3 separate regions of the Homo sapiens genome follow, and regions 2 and 3 are each linked to region 1. The links are contacts of gene promoters, found by promoter capture Hi-C in blood cells and fetal thymus (Javierre and others, 2016). All regions are on one chromosome and are shown on one strand. The core of a region is centred on a gene start or on the middle of the fragment in contact, and the rest is flanking DNA. Distances in the headings are between cores, read along the strand shown.

What was found. The method cuts DNA at HindIII sites, captures the fragments that hold promoters and counts their contacts. A CHiCAGO score of 5 or more calls a contact.
Region 2: the fragment with the promoter of ITGA5 here is called in contact with a fragment that was not itself captured in region 1 in 1 of 17 cell types (monocytes); the score reaches 5.6 in monocytes.
Region 3: the fragment with the promoter of HOXC6 here is called in contact with a fragment that was not itself captured in region 1 in 3 of 17 cell types (naive CD8 T cells, naive B cells and naive CD4 T cells); the score reaches 7.0 in naive CD8 T cells.

The regions. Positions count from the first base shown.
Region 1 is chr12:54,221,024-54,225,281 of GRCh38, forward strand. No RefSeq gene overlaps it. Among named protein-coding and RNA genes, the nearest start is that of MIR3198-2, 8.3 kb to the right of the region's middle. The HindIII fragment of the contact is 5,474 bases long and covers 1-4,258 here.
Region 2 is chr12:54,417,364-54,421,621 of GRCh38, forward strand. It overlaps ITGA5 (integrin subunit alpha 5), which reads right to left and starts at 1,903. Exons shown (of 30, transcript NM_002205.5): 1 at 1,618-1,903. The coding sequence starts at 1,835. All of the region lies in intron 2 of GPR84-AS1 (GPR84, ZNF385A, ITGA5 and GTSF1 antisense RNA 1), which reads left to right. The HindIII fragment of the contact is 3,058 bases long and covers 1-2,506 here.
Region 3 is chr12:54,026,525-54,030,782 of GRCh38, forward strand. HOXC6 (homeobox C6) reads left to right here and starts at 1,916. Exons shown (of 2, transcript NM_004503.4): 1 at 1,916-2,397; 2 at 3,131-4,258. The coding sequence starts at 1,998. The coding sequence ends at 3,438. It also overlaps a transcript of HOXC4 not described here and a transcript of HOXC5 not described here. The HindIII fragment of the contact is 15,214 bases long and covers 1-4,258 here.

The DNA.
Region 1 (4,258 bases), core at 1,283-3,782:
CCAGGCTTCATCCTATCCCTGTACAGGCCAGAGCCTCCCTCATACTAGCCCTATTTCTGGTCTTCTTAACTCCTCGAACTAATGACAAAGATCTATCACCCTTAACCCTAACCTCCCCCTTGGCTACATGTACCAAGTCCTACCGCACCAAGAGATACAGTCGGGACCCAGCGTCACATCACTCATGGGTGTGCCCAACACTGAGGGAACTGATATTAATATAAGGTTCCCACTCCCACCATGCCTCTTTTCTGAGTGAAACAACAGAAAACTCAATGACCTTATAGGAGGCTGGTGTGTGTGTGACATCCAAGATGCTGGGCACTTTTGGAATCCCCAGCCTTCTCACTTCCCATCCTACAAACAGGAGGGCTTGGTGAATTTACCTGCTGAGACTCTTATCTCACCTTTCGTTCACGCTGTGGTGCCCAGGAGATGCCTGGACACACTCAGGTGGCTCTCCCTCACATAGCGCCTTTTCTCTCACTGCCTACCATACCTCACATCATTCCTGCCTTTTTACTGCCTTTTATTTTCCTCTCCTTTTATGCACCCACCCTTTCTACTTACATTTCCTCTCCCCTTTTCCCTCTGGGGCTTGGTTTCTTCCCATCCTTCTCACTCTCTAAAATCCTGTCCTCTTTCCATCCCAAATGCTTTCCTCTATAACTACCACCACCAGCAACAGCTCTCCATCACCCGTCTCTGTGCTTCCCCTCCCAGGCCTGAGGCACCACAAGGGCGTAAGTGATTTATGAGCCACCTTTTAAACTCAGAAACCAAAAACTTCTGGTGCTTCAAGGGGGCATACTGTGCAATCTTACTGCTGTGATCAGACTCAGTGATAAGGATATCTAGACCAAGACAGTCTCATGGAGAAAGCAAGAAGGCAGAAGGGAAGACTATGGAGCTGGGGCGGGGACTGGCCAGAAAGTCTGGGCAGTGAAGTCTTACTAACCATTATTAGTGTTTTTGGTGAGTTTCACACTGTGGGTGACGATGGAGACAAGTCCAAGTAGGAGGTGAGAGGGCTGGGGATTCCACCGTGCCTCTCTAAATGTCACATCATGTCTTTTTTGGTGGGGTAGGGGACAGACATTTAGGCTGGAGTGCAGTGGTATGATCTGGGCTCACTGCAGCCTCAACCTCTTCAGCTCAAGTGACCCTCTCACCTCAGCCTCCCAAGTAGCTAGGACTATAGGTGCGCTCCACAACGACCAGCAAATTTTTTAATTTTTTGTAAAGATGTCTTGCTAGTTGCCCAGGCTGGTCTCAAACTCCTGGCCTCAGCAATCTTCCCCAGCCTCGCAAAGTGCTGATACTATAGGGATGAGCCACCATACCTGGCCTCATGTCATTCTTTAAATAATTTTCACTTTCTTGTTCACTGTTCATCCTTCAGAAAGTCTATAATGACCATGTCCCAGCACAAACTATGTTTTAGACTATGAGCTCTGGAAGGCAGGGATGACATGTAACTCCATTAAAAGCTCTTTGCATACTATCCTCTGGGAACAGATGTTTAATGAAGGTTTTTTTTTGTTGCTGTAAATGATGAGATGATGTGGTCAATGGAGTTAATAATAGTGACCATGAAGGAAGTGTGATCATGATCAAGTTAATGATGATAACAGTAAGGGCACTGATCAGTGGTGACAATGACAGCATTGGTGAAAAATGAAGCAAGTGGGAACCATGACTTGACCACTGATTCATCCCACAATTATTTAATAAGCATCTGCTATATGCTACACACTCAGCCAGGAATTGAAGATCCACAGATGAAGTAGAAATGGACTCTGTCCACAGGAATTCGCAGTTTATTTTATAATACAGATGAGGCATAAGAGGTTGTGAAAGCACCAAAGAGAGAATGAGTAATTTTACTTGGAGGAACCCATGAAGGCATCAGGGAGGAAGAGACCAAAATATGCAGAGTGGATTGTGGGAGCAGAGGCATTGAAATCCAAGAGACCAGCTTGTTGGGGCTTGGAGCATAGTTCTGTGAAATTCTGGGAGGGATAAGGAGAATAGAAGTGGAGGAAAATGCAGTAAAGGCAGGTCTGGGGCAGACTTTGAAGGGTCTGCATTTGAGGAGTTTCCAGGATTCTCAGGAGGAGGTAGCAAAGGGCAAGTGGATACAGAGAGAACAGTGATACAGTCAAGGCCCAGAGATATCGGTGTGGGGGGTCATAAGTCCATAAGTAATGGTTGAAATAATGAAAGTATAGAAGCTATTTTAGAAGATGGGAACAAACTGGGGTAAGAACAACAGCTGAGGCCGGGCATGGTGGCTCACACCTGTAATCCCAGCACTTTGGGAGGCCGAGGCGGGGGGGATCACGAGATCATGAGATCGAGACCATCCTGGCTAACACGGTGAAACCCTGTCTCTACTAAAAATACAAAAAATTAGCCAGGCGTGGTGGCGGGTGCCTGTAGTCTCAGCTACTCAGGAGGCTGAGGCAGGAGAATGGCTTGAACCCGGGAGGCGGAGCTTGCAGTGAGCCAAGATCGCGCCACTGCACTCCAGCCTGGGCGACAGAGCGAGACTCCATCTCAAAAAAAAAAAAAAAACAACTGAGAATGGAACACTGGAACCACTACTGTTTCAAAGGTATGAGACTAACACGAAGTGGCCAGGGGGCCCTCCAGACCACGGATACTGGTAGAATCCATACACAGTACATTGATACTTCTTTTTTTTTTTTTTAAGAGACAAGATCTTACTCTGTTGCCCAAGCTGGAGTGCACTGGTATAAACAACGCTTACTGCAGCCCCAACCTCCCCGGTTCAAGCGATCCTCCCACCTCAGCTCTCTGAGTAGCTGGGACTATAGGCATGCACCACTACAATCAGCTAATTTTTGTGTTATTTGTAGAGATGGGGGTACGTACCACCTTGATGCCCAAGGTGGTCTCGAACTCCTGGGCTCAAATGATCCTCATGCCTCGGCCTCCCAAAGTGTTGGGATTATTATAGGCGTGAGCCACCACCCCCAGCCCAGAACTGTTTTTTATGTTAAGTGAAAAAAAGTGCAAAATAGGGACGGGCACAGTGGCTCATGTCTGTAATCCCAACACTGGTCCAGGCAGGAGGATCTCTTGAGCACAGGAGTTCCAGGCCAGCCTGGGCAACATAGGGAGGCCCCATCTCTTTTTTTTTTTTTTTTTTTTTTTTTTTGAGACGGAGTCTCGCTCTGTCCCCCAGGCTGGAGTGCAGTGGCGCGATCTTGGCTCACTGCAAGCTCTGCCTTCCAGGTTCATGCCATTCTCCTGCCTCAGCCTCCCAAGTAGCTGGGACTATAGGCGCCCACCACCACGCCCAACTAGTTTTTTATATTTTTAGTAGAGTGGGGTTTCACCGTGTTAGCCAGGATGGTCTCGATCTCCTGACCTTGTGATCTGCCCGCCTTGGCCTCCCAAAGTGCTGGGATTACAGGCGTCCCAGCCAGGGAGGCCCCATCTCTTAGGAAAAAAAAAAAAAAAAAGCAGGGCATGGTGGCACGCATCTGTAGTCCCAGCTACTTGGGAGGGAGGCTTAGCCCAGGATGTGGAAAGATCGCTTGAGTCTGGGAGGTCGAGGCGGCAGTGAGCTGTGATCATGCCACTGCACTCCAGCCTGAGAGACAGAGTGAGACCCTATCTCAGAAAATAATAATACAAAATGGTACACACACTATGTAAAAACGGGATTTTGTTTCATATGGACAAAAATCTGGTCAAGCACACAAATGTAAAAATATGTCATATTAACATCATAGGATTATAGTTTTCCCAATGTCTACTTTTGTCAATTTTTTGCTATGATTACAATAAAAAGATAAAATACTTTGTGAAAAATGAAATAATTATCCCATATTTGAGCTGAGTCCCCTTAGGAAACTGATACCCAGAGAGGGGAATTAATTTAGCCAATATTACTCAACCTTGTGAATAACAAAGCCAGACTTAAATTCTTACCTAAGGATTTTGCCCAGTGCCTGGGCTGTTCCGAGGTGGTATATTGGTTAATTCGGGAGTGATGCCAGTTGTGAGCTTATTGTTTCCTAGCTTCTCTCAATCCATACATAACTGCGACTCTCTTTGTGCCCTCAGAATTCCAACCTGCTTGTTGCTCTTCCAATAGCATGGGGTCTGTACAGCTATTCTGGTACAGGTCTAAGAGTAGCTTTTCATTTACCTCCATTAATGATTTCTTCCTTTTGGCCCAGAGAAGTCCACAAAGCACCTTCCAAAGCCCCTTCCAAGTGCCTTT
Region 2 (4,258 bases), core at 653-3,152, 200 kb after region 1:
TTTCTACTCCATTAGGGCTGTGATAAGAAGTTTGAGGGAACCTGGGGGAGACCAGGCCTGGCAGAGGCTCCAGGCCAGGGTGATGATGCAATGGGGTTTGGGCAAAAGGCCAGGGGGGTGGGGTGGGGGTTGGGTGGGGACCTTGAATAGCCCAGAACAACAGTCGGGGCCTAATCATTTTTCTTTTCTCCCATCCCCAAGTCCTCCAGACAAAGGAGAATTTGCCTTTCTCCCCAGTTGTATTAGCTAGATTAACCCCTTTTCTCCAAAAACTATAGGGACTGAGTAGAGATCAGTTAACTGTCTCATGTGTAAAAACAGGTCGCTTCTGACAGAATTCCCCTCAAACCCTGAGATCCTGGGGTTGGGGTGGGGGTGAGCAGTAGGAAGCTCCCAGCTCAGAGATGTAGAAGAAAAAGGATTACACCAGTCATTGTGGAGGACCAGGAATCTGGCATCTATGGCCTAGCCCAGGAGCAACCACCTACCTCTCTTGCTTCCCAATCTCCCCGCCATCCCACATTTAAACAGACACCCTTGGTTCTAATGTTGCTTCCACTCTAACTCCTGTTTCCCAAGCCTGTCAGTACCCCATTTTCTAGGCACTCGGGGTCCGGGTCTGCTTATCACTGTGCTGAGTTGGGAATAAGGATCCTCCTTTGAGATTTCCAGGGTCCTGAGTCCTTCATTCTGACGTTCTTGGCCCCACGGAGCCCCCGTCTCCCCAGCTTCCGACCCCAGCCCCAGAAGTCCCGGTCTCAGCACAGCTCCAGCCGACCAGCTACAGGAAACCAGCTTTTCTCTTCCTCCCAAGAGCCAGAGGAAGAGGGAAACCGCCCACCCCCCTTCACGCGCGCACACACCCCTCCCGACACATCCCAGCACCCGCCCTTGGCTGAGTTCGCCCCCAGCCCCAGGGCCCCAGTGCCAGGGTCCCCGCACTCGCCCCCAGTTCTCGGATCCCCTCGCCTGAACAGAGATTGGGGGCGGAGGGAGGAGTAGGAGACAGAGGAGAAAGGAGAGGGAGCCGCCGTCCTCTCTCGGGTCTTTCCCCGGTCTGAGTTGAGGGGGGAGGGGAGGATGAGGCTGGCCCCCATTTAACCTTCCGACCCCCTCAGTCTTTGACTTTCCTCCTACTACACGTAGCTCATTCGGCTTCTACCCGTTCTCTCGCCGCACAATGGCCCCTACGGATCCCGAGGTCTCCTGGAGCCCCCAAAAGCCCTTCCCGGCCTCTGCGCCCCCTCTGCGCCCCCACCCGCCCCAGGTCCCAGCAGCCCACAGACTTCAGCCAGAGACCCTCAGCTCTCCATTCACGCGCTCTCCTCTCCCTTGGCCCGGAGACCCCTGCCCAGACTTCTCCAGCTCCGTGTCCTCTCCCCACCGGACACATGTCTCCCCACTGATCTCAAACGCCAGGGCCCCTCCTCACCCGCCACGGTGCCCTCCCTACTCCAGCGCGGGCCCCCAACTCTAGCCAGGGCCCCCAACTGCAGCTCTATTCCTTACAAACTCCACCCTCAAACTTAAGCCCTGGTCCCCTCCAGACCCCAGCCGCGCCCCCAGTCTCCAGGCGGCTCCCCCACCCCCATCCCGTCTCCAGCCCTCCTCACTCACCCGTCTGTTCCCGGCCGGTAAAACTCCACTGAGAATCCGAAGAAGGAGCCCGGGGGCCCCGAGAGTACTGCTGGGGCCTCCGCGTCTAAGTTGAAGCCCCCGACCCTGGGTGGCGGCGGCAGCAGCAGCAACAGCAGCGGCAGCAGCGGGGGTCGGCGCCGGGGGCCCCAGCGCAGCTGCACGGCGTGGAGAGGGGACTCTGGCGTCCGGCTCCCCATAGCGCCCGCTCTTCCCTGTCCTGGGGCCACCGACCCGGAGCCGCTTCCTAAACCTCCCAGAGGCGAATGACTCAACGCGGGGAGGAGTTTGCCAAACTCCCGGCTGAGCCCTCCCCCCGCCTGCCGAGGGGGCTGGCGGGGGGGCATTCCTGGGTCCCTGGAACTCTGAGCCCGCGTCCCCCACCCCTAAGGGGCGTGGGGGGGGGGCGCACCCCTCCAACCCCCTTTCCCCAGCCCCAGCTGGAAGCCGGTTGTCTGGACTGGGTTAGACTGGGCGGGTTTGGGTTCTTCCCCCTCCTCTCTGCTTCCCCCTCCTTCCTCCCCATTCCTTTCCAGATGTACAACGTAAACGCTCGGAAAACGAGTCGGAAAAGGGAGCGGAGAATTTCCTAATGAGGAAAGGAATCACCTCTGGTGGGCGGAGGAAGCCTGTATATGTGTGTGGGGTCTCCCTCAGTGCTTTAGGGAGGAGACTTTGGGGTCTAAAGAGACAGGAGACTCCTCTGGCGTCCGGCCAACTGGGATTCCCCCTTGCCTTCCGGGGCCGCCGGGTGCCTGGGTTCTGGCCAGCTGGATTTGGGACACAACAGTTGAGGTACAGAGACAGCGTTCGCAGTCAGCTTGCTAGAGGACCTACACGGGCTCCTCAAGTTCCGCTGCTTCCTCCTCCAAGCTTGCTAGTATTGAAAACCCAGGAGTTTGGGGTCATTCATCAGGAGGATTCTGCTCCAGTTTGCCCCCTTCTTGGTCCTAGGGTATGTAAACCTCTGCTGAGCCCCTTCCTTGGATCTGACAGTTGACCAAAAGCCTGCGAGTGGCTGGCCCCTCAGTACCTGCTTGATTAAACTGGCCGGGTTCCTACAAACCTGGAGAATTGTGAGAGGTGGTGGTGGTGGTGGAAAGTCTTGCAAAGGGACCCAACCTTCAGCTCCTAATGGCTGTAAACGCTGGGAGCTCTGGCCAGGCACGGTGGCTCACACCTGTAATCCCAGCACTTTGGGATGCCGAGGTGAGCAGATCACCTGAGGCCAGGAGTTCAAGACCAGCCTGGCCAACATGGCAAAACCCATCTCCACTAAAAATACAAAAATTATCCAGATGTGGTGGTCCGCACCTGTAATCCCAGCTACTCGGGAAGCTGAGGCAGGATAATTACTTGAACCCAGGAGGCAGAGACTGCAATGAGCCGCGATTGCACCACTGCACTCTAGCCTGGGTGACAGAGCAAGACTGTATCCAAAAAAAAAAAAAAAAAAAAAATCCAAAAACCAAAAACCAAAAAAACAATGGGAGCGGAAAGCCAGGACCCCATTCTTCCCAGATTCCCCTGTGGAAGTAGAGGAAGGGACTCTAGAAAGGGAAGGCAGTGACCCCCTGCCCACCTCTTCCCCAAGCTCAGGCTCTGTGTGATGAGATCACTTTTCAGGATTCTAGCCTTTATCTTAGTCTGGGGGAGGGGACTACAAGTCCTTTCAGTCTCTTTCCTCCAGGACTCCTCACTTTCCAGAATAATACCCTGTCAATAATATCCTGTCAACCCTGTCCCTTCTGTTCTCCAGTCCCCTGCCCCACTTCGGGCTGAAAGGCTCAGAATAAGAGTGCCCAGAGTCAATGTTTTTTTCCTGCCATGACTCTCCCCCTCACTCTGCTACTCCACTTCCTGTCCCAAATCACCCATCTGCTTTTTTAAAAGCCCCCCTCCAGAGCCAGCTGCAGCCCAAGGGAGAGGCTGGCTGGCCAGACTGTGGGGCAATGCTGGCCCGTATCCCATTCTCACATCTGCAAGTCCTGACCCTTTCTTAGGTGAGGAACCCAGGGAATCTCTGGGTCAGGATCTTTAAGCCCAGCATTGCCAAAAAGGCAACCTTTAGGTGAGAGCTACTCAAGCCATGGGCTGGGAACCCCCTTTGGGAGGAGAAGGGCTGAGGCCTGATTGCTTTTTAGCCCAGCAAAACACGTGTGTGAACCAAACACTCTCCTTTCTCAGTCTAGGCAAACTCTTTAGATTTTCCCAGGATTTGGGAGATTAGGGGTGGGGGTGGGGAGGGGTGCAGGGAAGGAGGTGTGTGACTCAGCTCCTCCCAGGAGCCTTGGTGGGGGACAGGGGACATAGCGTCCTGCCCCAGTCCTCCTCCCCACTCCACCCCTAGCCTTGGCCAACTCAAACAGGCCCCCTCCCTGTCCATTCCCTGCTCCTGTTTACACCGGGAGCCCCTTAGTCATTCTTTGGCTGGCCTTTCTACTCTCCCCAATATCCCTCCTCTCTTGGCTCTTTCTGCCCTTATAAGTCCTCTCCCAGTGGCCCCAACACCTCCTGCCTTTCCTCTCACCATGCCTGCCTTTGCCTGATCCTCTCTTCCTCTGCTCTGGGTTCGTCCTTAACTTGGGGTCCCCTCCTAATTAGAGCTACTTCAGCACAGACC
Region 3 (4,258 bases), core at 666-3,165, 200 kb before region 1:
AAAGTGTGATCTAGAAGGAGGAACCTTTATAATTATAGGAGTCTTTCCCCTTCCCTTCCAAATACCGACAAATTTCTGTCCTTTCTGGAGGATTGGGGCTGTATTTTCTAAAACCAACACAAATTGTCTGGCAGGAAGACTCTTCAACCCCCTAACGAGGTTCATGTATTAACTAACATGTTGTCTCCACCAGCTCCTGCACACTGTCTGCTTTTGGGTTCGAAACTTTATTTTTCCCCCCTAGCGACACTCCAGGGAAACCTTAACGTTACAGAAGATGAATAAACGAGTTTTTTCTCAGCATAGTCCCGTTTATGGCTTTATTGCTACCCATTGATTACTCCGCTTTGTTACACAGAAGGAAAAGATCATAAAATCCGGCGACATCCGGGTTCTTGTTATAGCCAGCTTTCCCCCCCCCCAACCCACCCAAAAATGGTGGGGGGGGGGGGATATGAGCTTTCTCTGCTCCCCGCACACTCCCCACCACCCTTCTTTGTCAACTCAAGGCATTTTCAGCCTATATCACGATATCAAATTAAGTTTGGACTAATCAGGAGAAAACCCCCATCTGCACACTTTCCGCTGTTTCAGTTCGCCTACTGCGGCTCCCTCACAAGCCTCGGATTCAGCTGCCTTTTCGTAACCGTCTCTTCCCTTTTTTTAGCCCCAAGATGGGGGAATAAAATGGGCGTTGAGGTTGCTGAGAGGCCCATCCCCACCACGGGTGACTGGCACTTGGGTGAGAGCTCCTTAGAACCCCTTTCTGAAGTCTCCAAGCCTCATAGCTCAGGTCCAGGGGCGCCTCCACTGGCGGTGCCCTGAGTCTGGAGGGGGCAGGGGGGCTTCTGACCAAGGCAGGGGCTTGAGCCTGCAGGAAGCTAACTGTCCATCAGAGCCCCACCAGCCTTCTCTTTCTGGCTGGATCCTATGTGAATTACCCCACAGGCCCTCACTGGCTCCAAATAATAAATTCTCACCAACATAAACAGGAGTTGATGTCTCTAGAAAGATTCTCAGAGTTTTCGTTCTTCCTCTCTCTCTCTTTCTCTCTGTCTTTCCCCCTCCGGTGCCACCTCCCTACATTTTACTTCTTTTTCTCCTTTTTCTATTGCATTTTTTATACATTTTCCCTTTTAGGCAAAAATGCTGGAAGAGTTTTCCCAACAGAGGGGTCCTGAGAAGGAGGCAGAAGGGAGCCAGGAGGCAAAGGAGAGCAGATGCGTGGCCCATTTGCCCACTCCAGCTCTGCCACTGTACCCTGAAGTCTTGCCCCTTTAGACCTAGTTGTTCCCCACATCCCTACTACATTCAAGACTCTCAGCCACACTCTACTTACTCAGGGGAACAGGTTTTATGAAATTTCTTTCTACTTTTGATTTTTTTTTAATTATTGGTGAAAAAAATACTAGTTTAGTGATGGGACTCACTCCATGGAGTGTCAAAACAGGATTTCCTGCAGGATTTCTAGGGACCCCCCTCCTGTGCTGGGAGGGAGTTCTTCCCTTGGAGAAATCAGGATGTAATTTTAGAAGGGGGCAGATATAAAACATGAAACCAGATTGAAAATACAGGGGTTTCTCTAGCCCTGGCTCTGGCCACAGCACAGCAAAGTTAGCTGGGGCTGAGAGATTTCCTGGTAGTACAGCTCTCCTTCCCTGAGTCCCAAGGCCCTGCTCAGGGACATGCACCCCTCCTTCACCACCAAACCAGTTCCCTTACATATATATATATATATATATATTTTTTAAAAGAAATCCAAGTCTTACTTTCAAAGCACACACTTAGTCTCAACTAGGGAATCAACAGAAGCAGAAGCGATTTTTTTCCCCCTTCCTGACATCTGGCTTGCGATTGGCTGGGAGGGGGTCAGCTGACTTTGTCATTTTGTCTGTCCTGGATTGGAGCCGTCCCTATAACCATCTAGTTCCGAGTACAAACTGGAGACAGAAATAAATATTAAAGAAATCATAGACCGACCAGGTAAAGGCAAAGGGATGAATTCCTACTTCACTAACCCTTCCTTATCCTGCCACCTCGCCGGGGGCCAGGACGTCCTCCCCAACGTCGCCCTCAATTCCACCGCCTATGATCCAGTGAGGCATTTCTCGACCTATGGAGCGGCCGTTGCCCAGAACCGGATCTACTCGACTCCCTTTTATTCGCCACAGGAGAATGTCGTGTTCAGTTCCAGCCGGGGGCCGTATGACTATGGATCTAATTCCTTTTACCAGGAGAAAGACATGCTCTCAAACTGCAGACAAAACACCTTAGGACATAACACACAGACCTCAATCGCTCAGGATTTTAGTTCTGAGCAGGGCAGGACTGCGCCCCAGGACCAGAAAGCCAGTATCCAGATTTACCCCTGGATGCAGCGAATGAATTCGCACAGTGGTGAGTTTTACAGCTCCGAGATATAAATTAAATAAACTGAACTGGCTTTATGACCGGCTTCCCTAGAAGAACGGGCGGAGAGAGTTTTTTATGGCCCCATAAAAACAATCACGCTCGTCTCCTCACCGAGACAGGGCCCCCTCTTCTGCCCCCTCAGCTCGCCTCTCGCTCGCTTGCAGGGGCCTGGCCCCCTTGGCCCCTGACGGATTGGAGGGCCCCAAGGCGGGCTGAGGGGGCAGGAACAGGGCAGGGGATGAGGGGAGGGAGCAGAAGATAGGGGAGCCCCCCAAAGTGGAGTCAGTCTGAGGAGAAGGGAGGGGGAGAGGAGAGGCAGATAAGTGGGGAGAAGTTTCCAAGGAACTAGGATGCTTGGGGAGATGGGGGAGCCCAGTCCTTGAGAAAGGGGGCCCTCATCCCCATTATCTGGGATTTTTCAAAAATCTGCTTTTAGACTTGCAGCTTTCTGTTTGCCTTTTGCCCCGCCCCCCCGCCCCCCCCCCCACCACACACCTTTCTTTGGGACACACAGGTCCCACCTTATAGGAGGTCTGAAGTTGGGGTCCTCGCTGTACCCCCAGTGGGGGTGGGGCAAGGCAAAAGGGAGAAGGCTAGAGCCCTAAGGAGGCTGTGAGCTGCTGGCCAGGTTGGGAGGGTCAGGACTTTGCTAGGCGAAACAGTCTGCAGAGGACGCTTTGCTGATTGCTTTTAGTGTGTTTTGTGCCCGGATCTTTAGGGGTCGGCTACGGAGCGGACCGGAGGCGCGGCCGCCAGATCTACTCGCGGTACCAGACCCTGGAACTGGAGAAGGAATTTCACTTCAATCGCTACCTAACGCGGCGCCGGCGCATCGAGATCGCCAACGCGCTTTGCCTGACCGAGCGACAGATCAAAATCTGGTTCCAGAACCGCCGGATGAAGTGGAAAAAAGAATCTAATCTCACATCCACTCTCTCGGGGGGCGGCGGAGGGGCCACCGCCGACAGCCTGGGCGGAAAAGAGGAAAAGCGGGAAGAGACAGAAGAGGAGAAGCAGAAAGAGTGACCAGGACTGTCCCTGCCACCCCTCTCTCCCTTTCTCCCTCGCTCCCCACCAACTCTCCCCTAATCACACACTCTGTATTTATCACTGGCACAATTGATGTGTTTTGATTCCCTAAAACAAAATTAGGGAGTCAAACGTGGACCTGAAAGTCAGCTCTGGACCCCCTCCCTCACCGCACAACTCTCTTTCACCACGCGCCTCCTCCTCCTCGCTCCCTTGCTAGCTCGTTCTCGGCTTGTCTACAGGCCCTTTTCCCCGTCCAGGCCTTGGGGGCTCGGACCCTGAACTCAGACTCTACAGATTGCCCTCCAAGTGAGGACTTGGCTCCCCCACTCCTTCGACGCCCCCACCCCCGCCCCCCGTGCAGAGAGCCGGCTCCTGGGCCTGCTGGGGCCTCTGCTCCAGGGCCTCAGGGCCCGGCCTGGCAGCCGGGGAGGGCCGGAGGCCCAAGGAGGGCGCGCCTTGGCCCCACACCAACCCCCAGGGCCTCCCCGCAGTCCCTGCCTAGCCCCTCTGCCCCAGCAAATGCCCAGCCCAGGCAAATTGTATTTAAAGAATCCTGGGGGTCATTATGGCATTTTACAAACTGTGACCGTTTCTGTGTGAAGATTTTTAGCTGTATTTGTGGTCTCTGTATTTATATTTATGTTTAGCACCGTCAGTGTTCCTATCCAATTTCAAAAAAGGAAAAAAAAGAGGGAAAATTACAAAAAGAGAGAAAAAAAGTGAATGACGTTTGTTTAGCCAGTAGGAGAAAATAAATAAATAAATAAATCCCTTCGTGTTACCCTCCTGTATAAATCCAACCTCTGGGTCCGTT